2 separate regions of the Homo sapiens genome follow, and region 1 is linked to region 2. Evidence: promoter capture Hi-C in human tissues and cell types (Jung and others, 2019). All regions are on one chromosome and are shown on one strand. The core of a region is centred on a gene start or on the middle of the fragment in contact, and the rest is flanking DNA. Distances in the headings are between cores, read along the strand shown.

Region 1 (5,092 bases), core at 2,237-4,736, 350 kb before region 2:
ATGTAGGGCCCAAATCTCATTCATCTTCCAGTACCCAGCTCTCAGCCCTGTCTGCCAACAAAACTTCTCAGGAAAGCATTTGCTAAAGGAAAAGAGAAGAGATATTTGTGTTATACAGTTGACCTCCTCTCTGGGAATTACTTTCCTGCCAGGTAATGAGCCACACAGGATTTATAGTGCAGAAGCAGTGTGGTGTGGTAGACAAGGTCAAGTGACCTGCATTTGAATCCAGATTCTGACACAGCATGCATGACTTGGACAATCTACTTTCCTTCTCTGCATCTGTTTCTTTGTAGGTAAAATAAGAATAGTAACACCAGGCCCATGGGGTTGTTGCAAAGACCTATGAGATAAAGCAGGGGAAGCTTTGGGCAATGAATGGCAATGTCCCCAGCTCTGTCTGATCTCAAATGCCCTGCCCAGCCAGCTCCCTGATCCTTGTTTAACCCACATTCTTGGGAAAGGACTCTAGATAGCTTGGGCTCTTCCTACATATTGATCTCTAAAAGTCCTGAGACTGTGCCGGAGAGTAAGAGGAAAGGTCATTCCCAGAGCCAAACTCAGAGATGTCCCTGCAGGAGCATGCAGGACACCCTCTAATGAGATGGCGTAATGGGGATGCCACTAAAGGACTGACAGGGTAACTGGGTCCATCTGGGAGAAAATTAAGGCTGAGGCTGGGCTGAAGGTAGTGAGTTATCTCAATTGACTGTTCATAGTCAGTTACAGATCAAACTCTGTTCTCTCTCCCCACTTCTCACTGCTGCAAAGGAAGGGAAGGAAAGGAAAGGGAAGGGGAAGGGGAGGGGGAGGGGGGAGTGGGGGAGGGGAAGGGAAGGAAATGGAAGGGGAAGGGAGGGGGAGGGGGGGAGGGGAAGGGAAGGGAAGGGAGGGGGAAGGGAGGGGAAGGGAGGGGAGGGGAGGAGGAAAGACAAAAATAGAAAAAATTAAGGCTGTGAGGAGGAGAAAGGAGGGGAGCAAAACAAAAGAAAAAATTAAGGCTGAAGTTCCAAAGCATGGACTGGGTCTGATGCACTGCTGGGTCCCCTGAACACAGTACAGGCCTTAGGATACCCAGGGTATGTAACCTCTGACTGCACAAATGCTAACAGACCTTGGTTTTCTCAAGAGGCTCCTCTTGCATCCATGCTTGTCCTTAAGCCGGGGCCACATACTGGACTATGCCCTGTGTTCAGTAGCCTGGCCCAAGAGGTTCCTTATAGTTTGACCTCATCCACCACCTCTCACCATGCGACCTGCTATAGCATGAGACTGGTTCCTGAACTTCAGGGTGCTCTCAAGCCTCTAATGCCTTTGCTCATACCATTTCTTCCATCTGTTCTCTGTGTGGAAAGCTCTCCCAACTTTTTCAGATTGGCAAACTCCTACTCATTTTTCAAGGTTCAAAATAAATTTCCACTTCCTGTCCCAAAGCTTTCCCTAGTTCCCTTGGCAGAGTTGCATGCCTCCTCTTCAGAGCTCCAACTGCACCACGTTCCTCTGTAACTTCATTCAATCATTGCTGTTTTTATACATGTCTCACCTCTAAGTTGGTGTCTCTGGAACTGTGGCTGAGGTGAATACCTGATATTTTTGCCAACCAGCTTTCATCTATTCATCCTACTTCTGGGAACAGTGCCCTGAATTTCCTCTGGGACACCATCCCACCCCTGCTGTAAGCCCTGTTATTTTAGACCATCCGTTTCCAGACCACTGGGGTTGATGCAGGGATGGCCACAGGACCCAATTTAGACTGATGTCTACCAGGCCCAGGACTTTCAGTCATACTGTTAGAGGAAGAGAAATTCTCTTGGTTGGACTTGAACTCAGGAGGGCATTAGCCTGGAGCTGCTGAACATCACTGCAGCTTCCAAATGAGCCAGCCCTGCAGGTGTAAAGATGGAAACAAAGCAAAGTCTAAGTGACACTCTTTGAGCCCCTGGATCACACAGCTCTTGGACTTCTCAGTTATGTGGCTTAACCTTTTCCCTTTGGCTTAAATCAGTTTGAACAGGGAGTTTCTATCTGACAGCCCCAAGAAGCCTGATGCAGGATGATGGTGTTTCCTTTCCTGACCACCTGGTTTTCTATGAGAACAATTCATTGATTCAACTCTAGAAGGATGGGAACCTACTGGAAAAGACTCCAACATGAACAGGATTCTCAGAAAGCAGGCAGGACCTGGCTTGGATCATCCATCAGCTCAGACAACAGAGACTCCAAGGCAGTCCCTCCTCTTGAGCCCTCAGGAATGGTCAACTTCAACCAGCTACCTTAAGTGTAGGGAAAACAAAATCCAGAAAGGTTAAGTGACTTGCCCCAAATGACTCAGCTAATATGCTGTCACCAGTTCCAACTGATCTCAGAATCCACACTCTTTTTCACTAGACCAGTGAAGGCACTAGTAGCTGCTGGATCATGGAGAGGGAAACAGGGCCTTCTGGGGGAACAAAGCAAGCCACAGTTACTGCTAGAGCCAACCAAATCTTTATTAGTCTCGGCAGCAGAACTAATGGAGCCCCCATTTACAGGGGAGCTTTAGTGGGCTAGTCTGGCTACCAGGCAGGGATGTTAGCATTTCTATTGGTGATTGGGATAGAAAGGGGGAAGAGACTGGAAGGGAACCAAAGGGGGAGACTGGTGGACCACCTGAGGGCAGGCACAGATGGGGCTTCCTGGGCTGGTGTAGAGGTGGATCAGGCCCCAGAGGAGAACACTGCCATCTTATTCAGAATGAAGGATGAGACAAAGCCTGAGAGGGTGACAGTCACAGCTACAAAGAGAGGGCCGAGCTCCTGGTGTGAGAGGCATTTCTGGACGGAGGCAGCTTTCTAGGGCTGGAAGTCTCAAATAGAACTCACCTGTTCCCCAACCAGGGGTCCCCAGGTTCAGCTCAATTGTTATCATGGGTACCAGCCAGGAAGCTGTTTGTGGGAAGGATGGGACTTGACTCAGGAGTGTTTTAGGTATGGACATGTGTCAGTATTCACAAAACAGGCAATATATTCATTATAGATGCAATCATGAAACTTCCCTCCAGAGAAGGCTCACATCTCCCCTTTCACCTAGGAAGCTCCTTAGCTTGAAGGCCCACCACGGTCTGATCCCAGCCTCCACCCCAGCCCAAATGAACTCCCATTTAATTCCTTGGACATGCCATGACGTTCACGGCTCTGCATACTTGCCAATAACTGTTCTTCCAGCCTACCTGTCTTGCTCCCTGCCCCACCTGTCCTTGTCAAAGGACTGATAACTCTTCAGCTTTGTCAAGTCCTTGTTTACTCCTGTTCTCCCCACCAGGACTCGAGCTCCCTAAGGAGAGAGCAGAGAGCCCGATTCATGTTGTGTCTACAGCGCCTGGGGAACTCGAAGCCAAATGAAGTCGTATTTGCTGTGCCCTGTTGTGTTTAGAGGAAATGTATCCATAAATGTCTATAACAGATTTTGGGGGTGTCTAGTGGTAGATGTGAAGACTTCAAGCGATGTTTGTACCTGTGATGATAGCTTCTTCCCATGTGGGGATTAAGGGTAGGGAGTGGGGGGAATGGTCCAAACCCGGAAGGAGCTAATGGAGAGGATAGGGCCAAAGTGGGACAGGGCTTGGATGGTAGAGGATGGGGTCCAGGAGGAAGAGGAGTCTAGCAATCCAAGCGCAGGGGTCAGTGCTCCGAGTCCCAGGGCTCAGAACCAGCAGGGCGACCACATGAGCGAGCCCAGCGCCGCCCCAGTGGCGGCTCCCGCAAGCATGCCCATGGCCAGAGGGGCGCCGGCGCTGTAGCAGGGATCCTCCCGCACTATCACGTGCGTCACGCCAGGGCCTGCAGAGGGAGACAGCCCATGAGGATCAGCGACTTAGGAGGGAGTAGAGTGATCTTCGTACCCTTCCTGCATCACTCCAGCCCAACCCAGTGTAAGGCGCCGAACCCACTCTCCTGCTCCCCAGTCAAAGAACAGATCTAGACGCGGGAAGAGCTCCACCCTACGGCTCCCAGGCCTTGGATCGGCTACGGATGTCCCGGAACCTACGGGTCCGCTACGGCAGGCTAGGGCGGAGCAGCGAGGAAACCCTGAGATCGCTAAGCACAACCACCAGGCGCCTAACGATGGGCATTCCCAACCGCCAGGCCCCAGAGCGGGGAGGAGGCAGCATTCCCGCAGTAGCCACCAGGGGCCGCTACCGGCTCAGGAATGGGTATTGCCGACCGCAGGGCTGAGGAGCCATCCCAGAAGGGTGAGGTCAGCTCGAGACGAACGCTGGTTCCAGAGCTCTCCCAGTCTCAGGATGGAGAGGGGCTTGCGGAGAGTTCTGCCTGGGAAAATCCGTGCACGCTAAAAGGATGAAGCCTGGTCCGGACTTACGGACCGTGGGCTGGGCCTGGCGCTGAATCGGTGCTGGATCGAGGCAAGCCCCGGGGCACGCTGGAGACTTACCTGCGTAGGGCGGTCCGTAGTAGCTGCGGACATACGTGGCCTCGTGTGCATTGGGGGGCACCACCTCGTAGTAGTCTTGGTACGGGCTGTAGACGCGCACCTGGGGAATCCAACCATGTCAGGTGCCCAGGAACTCCCTGGCCCGGATTTGGTCCCCTACCCCCACGCCTGGCACAGGCCTCTCTGGGATCCATGGAGCCACCTCCCCAAGTTTAGAAATGGGCCTCCAGCCACTAGCAAGCTCTTGGAGAAAGGCCCTGCCCTCCCCACAAGGTCCACGGTCCTCTAAAACTTCTGCCCTACATCCAGCTCCCAGTGACACCCATTCTCCAACTCTGGCCTCCCACCTAGCTCAAAAAATTCTCTATGGCTCCCAATTTCTCCTTATAGGTAGTCTAATATTTGCTAGCAGCTCTACAATAATGCCACTTGAAAGACCCAGCTCTACTAGTCACAAGGAGGGGAACATGGCCAAGCCCCAGGCCCAGGAAATAAACAGGGGTTGGGGAGGAAGGAAGGGAAAGGAAGGATAGGGATGAGAAGTAACTAAAATACAGTTATGCGTCTTTTAAACAACAGGGATACAGTCTGAGAAATGCGTCCTTAGGCAATTTTAGTTATGTGAATATCATAGAGTGTACTTACAAACAAACCTAGGTGG
Region 2 (5,172 bases), core at 1,155-3,654:
GGTGGTTCGTCTGGGCCGAGGATGAGGAAAGAGGTCGCCACATCCCTGTGGTACCCAGGCCGCAAAATGCTGCAACAGGAGGCTCAGGGTCTGCCCCAATGCCTTCATCTGTCAGACTGGACTCAGGGCCTGAGAGCTCCTCCTGGGACCGCTGCCCTCGGGTCACATCCCCTGCCCAGTCAGGGCTTCCAGGGGGGGCATCGCTTCCATCATCTTGTTGGGCACCCATGCGCTGGATCTTCTCAAAAACCTGGCGGGCCTCCTGCACATATTGGTCCTGGACGATGAGGGGCAGCGGATCCTCCTCGGCACCAGGGCCTGTGAGCAGGAGCTCGGAGGAGCTGGACTTCAGAGCACTGGTGCGGGGCAGGCGGCGGGCCATGGGCTTCTCAGAGCAGGTGAATGACTTTGCTCTCCGCAGAGTGGCTGTCAAGTCCTTGAGTGTGGGGCGCGTGCCAGGTGATGCTGGGGCTGGGATGGGTATGGGTTCAAGTTGCCCCACAGGGCCACCTGCGGATGGTGAGTCTCTGCCATCTAGGGGGTTGCTTCCACGGTCCCCGGAGCTCCCACCAGGTTTTCGGACCCTCAGCTCTGAAAGGTCTGAGCGCAGGAAACTGAGAAGCGTCAGGGTCTCTGAGGCGATATCTGGATTTGACAGGGACTTCCGCTGTCGACTCTTTTCAGGCTCAAATCCTCCATCCCTCAATGCCCTAGAGGTGCCTCCAGGTCCTTTGGCACGGGTTCGAGCCTGGGACCGCAGGAGCCCTTCCCCAGCTCCAAAGCTAGGGGAGCGGTACACGCCCCAGCCCCCAGAACCCCTACTAGACCATAGGTCGTCGTCCTTGAGGGTCTCCGTGCTGGAATAACGGCTGCTACCGCGGGAGCCTGCGGGGCTGGCCAGGTACGAGGGAAAGCTCACCTTGGCCACACGGAAAGCTCCTCCCACAGAGTCAGACATAGGCCGAAGTCCCTCCTGGGGACCTGGGACGCAGGGCGGAGAGCCACTACCCCACTCCCGGAGTCCTTCTTCTCTAGGGGCTCTTGGAGATGTTGGGGGCTCAGGGCTCCCAGAAACCCCTGCTGAGTTCATGCTGCTTAGATTTAACCCATCACTGTCAGGCCTGCAGTCCTGATCCAATAGGGAGCTTCCAGGCCTGAGCCCGGGCCTCCCTCCCCAGCGGTGGCCGCCCTCACCGTCTCGGTCGTCGTCACTGCCCGAGGAGTGGCCGCCGTGGTAGGCCGGACTCTGGGCTCCAGGCAGCTGCGGCGGGCCCTCCTCTTCCTCCTCGCTGGAGCTGGCAGCACGACTGCGGCTGACAGGATAGGAGGCGGCGATGGAGGAGGAGGAGCAGGAGGCCCGGGCCCCGGCCTGCGGTTGGGAGAAGATATGCCAAGAATGTAAACCATCCGCTGGACGCTGCGCCCGCTCCTGTTGCTGCTGCGGCCGGCGCAGCCTCCCTTCGGTCTCCGGCCCGGTCAGGGGCCGCGCCGAACGCAGACCCGCCAGGGGGAAGCATGTCCGAGGGGGTGGCGTCGGTGGCTGCCGCGACTCCCGAGCCGGAGGCTCCCACGCGGCACCGTCGGGGCTGGGCGTTCCTGGGGATTCAGAGTCGGCGCTGGGCCTCCTGGAGCCAGGACCGCCGAAGAGCTTGCGCATCTCGGTGACGCTGGGCCAGGCTCCTCGCGCTGGGCCCTCGGCCGCTTCTTCCGCGGCCGCGGGTAAGACGCCTCCGTCTCGGGTCCCAGCGGAGCCGTCGTCCAGACGCGGCGCGTCGAAGCGCCGGGAGAGCTGGCGAACCGACGGCGAGAGGCTGCGGAGCGGGCGCGGCTGCGCGGGGGCGGCCAGGGGCCCAGACGCCAGCTTGGACACGCGCCGAGAGGGCTGGCCCCGGGCAGCCGTGGTCGGCCGGCACGAGGCGCGTCGCCTCAAGCCGGGGGTGTCCGTGTCCTCCTCCCTCAGCCCGGGGCCGCCGCTCCAGCGCTCCAGCAGCTTGAACGAGACGCTGCGGTAAAGCTGGGGCCGGGGTGCCCCGTCCGCCATAGTGGCGTAACTCACTCCGGGGGGGCTGGCCTCGGGCAGCCGCGGCCAACCCCCCCTGCGCCCCCACTCCCTAGGAGCGCAGCGGCCCACGCCGAAAGCAGCGCACGGGAGTGTGGGAAGAGGACGCAGAGACCGGAGCAGAGGTTTCTCTGCCGCGGCTCAAGTTTCTGTGGCCACCGGCCGCAACGTCTCCATCCCGGGCGGCCCCTCCCGCCTCAGCGCCGACCCCCAGGCCCAGCCCCCGCCGCGGCTGGAGCGACCAGGGGCACCGCGGCACCGCCTGGGCGGGATCCCAGCGCTTGGTTCCTCGACTCTGCGTCCGCCTGCCCAACGCCCTTGGCTGCTCGCTCCTGGCACCCTTTTGTTGCAAATAAACTTTGCGGCAGAGGCAAGGGGGCGGGGGGCGGGGCCTCGCGCCCAAAAGAGGGGGTGGGCTCCGGGCGTGCGCGAGCCTGGGAACCGCGTGGTGGGAGGGAATCAGGGAGGAGCCGAAGAAGAAAAAGCCTGCTGGAGGACTTGCAGACTGAGGCGACCCTCTGGCCCTCCAGAGAGGTCCCTCGGGAGCCCAGCAGGCCGAGCTGCCCCCAGGGAGTCGCTGAGACACACACAACCGCTGAGCGTGCTCAGCTCCGCAGACTCGCAGCCAGGGCGCCGCGTCCACCGCGGGCCACCAGCCTCCGCGCGGAAACACCTCCTGCCCAGGGGCTCCAACATGGCAACCTCGGACTCACAAACTCTCGTACACACTGACACTCAGGTGCACGCAGACGCACACTCTCTGGGCCGGGAAAGGGGTGGGACTCGGCGCCAGGGAGAGCCCGGGGAGCCGCGGGCTAACTGAAGGGTCCGTCGCGCCCTACTCCCCGCCCAGGCCACGCCTCCTCCCCTTCCCTCCCCCTCCCCGCCCGCCCTCTGCGGCGAATTTAGCTGTAGCCACGCCCTTGTCCCCCCATCTCGCTCCCAAGCGCCCCGCCCATCCCACCTCCCAGCCGCCTGTCCGGCTCCGACCGGCCCCCAACCCGCCCAGCGTTGCTCCAGAAGTCCCACCCTTCACGACCGCGCCCCCACCCCTACTTTTCCAGCTGCCACGCCTTCCACCTGCCCCTGCAGTCTGGCGGCTCTTCTCCTGGACTCTCCGCCTGGATCCCCGAGCCTTTTCTTCTTGCTCTGGAGTACGCGGCTCTTGCGCCCCCTCGCGGCGTGATTTTCCCAACGCACGGAGTCCTGGACGGATAAAGCAGCACCCATCCCCCAAAAACGGAGAGTTGTGAAAACTTCCTTTCAGTCGTTACCTAATCCCCTTAGTCTTTTTCAGACCTTCGCAAAGCGCACTGCCCCTTCTTAGGCCTTATACACAAAAGGAGCTTCGACGGGAACGCCCTCGACTTCCCACTGCCAAACCTATACTCTTACCCGCAGCTGCTTCACCTTCTTGGCAGGAAAAGTGTCGGTTGTTTCTCTGGCTTCACGCTGATCCCTCGCTTGAGCTCCCCTCCCGCCCCTGCCTCCGTCTGAGTCTCACATTGTTCTCGGTATTGGGGCATCATCCCCTTCCGCATTCCCACCTGCCTCTAGATCCCATTCATCCTCCCGGCCCAACTAACGAATGAACGAACGAATGAAAATGTATGGAGTACCTATAATGTATGGGCAATATTATTTAACTTATTTTTTAAAATCCACAAACCACCCTTGGGGACAAATATTATTACCCCTTCTCTGTGGACCGTGAAGGAGAAGTAACTTTGACCACTATGCAAGTCAGGAAATAGCAGCTCCTGCTAAAATTCAGATTTCAGGGGCTTCAAACACCATGCTCCTCCAGCCAGCTCTGAGATGCACCCCCAAATCCTGATGAAGAAGGAGGTTCTCGTTCCTTTGAGCCCCCAGTCTCCTCCTTCTCCTCCTTGGGCCTGAGCTCACTCTCCTCAGGAACAGAGGATAACCTGGTCTGACCCATGCCCCTCCAGCGCTGCCCAGCCTTCTTCAGGCCTGGTCAAACTGCCCTGGCCCCTCCAACCCCCAGTAGCAAGGCCTCGGGGACACATAGTTAGGTCAGCAGTCTGTGCATTACCCAGCCAACCCCACTGCCACCAGGTCCAGCCAAGGAGATGTAGCTGGGCCAGACTAGGCTAGGAGACGGGGTTCAGAGGAGAGGGGCAGGCAGGAGGATAGGAAAGGATGGTAGACACCCAGGGATTGCCTGACTACCGAATGAGAGAGAGAGGACTCAGCCGGGACTCCAGAACCTGCTTGCTACTCATATACCCCACAGGATGAGGAGGTCACTCTCCACTCTCTGGGCAGCCTCTTGAGTTGTGGAATATCTCTGTAGCAAGAAAGTGCTTCCTCTCTGTGTTGAGACCAGCATCCAGGGAGTCCCTCACCTCAACCTCATCTCAGCTCTGCCTCAAGGGGGCCAAGGAGTAAATCTCTCCCTTTTCTCTAGGAAATTGATAAAAGAGAGCCCTGCTGGCCTGTGCCTCTCTGTTCGGCCTTACTCTGTGACCTTGGGTAAATCCCTGCACTTGCTGGTGTCTGAAAAGTGAGGAGTGGGGTGTCTGAAAAGTGAGGAGTGGTTCAGGTTCCCCAAGAGTGCCCTCTCTGGCTCTGGCATTTGATGTCAGACTCTCACCTCCTTTAGTATTTTCTTTCTGCTCTTTGGGGCAAGTTTTGGTGTGTGCTGTGGGGTGAGTTGTGGAGGGGTGAGTTGGGGAGGGGTGAGTTGTGGAGGGGTGAGTTGTGGAGGGGTGGGTTGTGGAGGGGTGGGGGACAGGACTCTCATCCCAGGAGTCACTCTCTCCCCCCATAATGATGACTCTTACTATCTGAAATTTGTACTTTTCCACCTCCCTGTCAGTTCTGGGACAGAAACCCTTATCCCATATCACAGATGGGCAAGTGGATAGAGAGGAGTGGAGGTTCAGGTCATGGGCTCCCAGAGTCCTGTGGCTTGGCCTTGAGGTGAGCTGGCTGGGGCCTTTGGCTCAGGAATCCCCTTGGTGGGGAGGGGGGTGTTTAAGGATCTAGACTGGGTCTCTGTCCAAAGGGAAGCTCACCCAATCTGAGAGTGGCTTGATTGCTTCCAGTGCTTCAGGAACCCTCCCACCCCCAGCTCCTTATGATCCAGT

Evidence for each region. The method cuts DNA at HindIII sites, captures the fragments that hold promoters and counts their contacts. A contact is called where the count stands out against the background at its distance.
Region 1: a fragment that was not itself captured here is called in contact with the fragment with the promoter of ARHGEF17 in region 2 in 1 of the 25 tissues and cell types used here (spleen).

What each region holds. Positions count from the first base shown.
Region 1 is chr11:73,660,192-73,665,283 of GRCh38, reverse strand. It overlaps PLEKHB1 (pleckstrin homology domain containing B1), which reads right to left. Exons shown (of 8, transcript NM_021200.3): 7 at 4,432-4,531; 8 at 2,465-3,818. The coding sequence ends at 3,682. Among named protein-coding and RNA genes, the nearest start is that of PLEKHB1, 16 kb to the right of the region's middle. RefSeq lists enhancers at 3,316-4,158, 4,159-5,003 and a silencer at 4,082-4,253. The HindIII fragment of the contact is 5,172 bases long and covers 901-5,092 here.
Region 2 is chr11:73,305,508-73,310,679 of GRCh38, reverse strand. ARHGEF17 (Rho guanine nucleotide exchange factor 17) reads right to left here and starts at 2,404. Exons shown (of 21, transcript NM_014786.4): 1 at 1-2,404. The coding sequence starts at 2,041. ARHGEF17-AS1 (ARHGEF17 antisense RNA 1) reads left to right here and starts at 1,319. Exons shown (of 3, transcript NR_147696.1): 1 at 1,319-2,008; 2 at 2,116-2,798; 3 at 3,124-3,169. RefSeq lists enhancers at 589-1,409, 1,415-2,292 and silencers at 1,713-1,932, 2,163-2,492, 2,893-3,032. The HindIII fragment of the contact is 12,473 bases long and covers 1-5,172 here.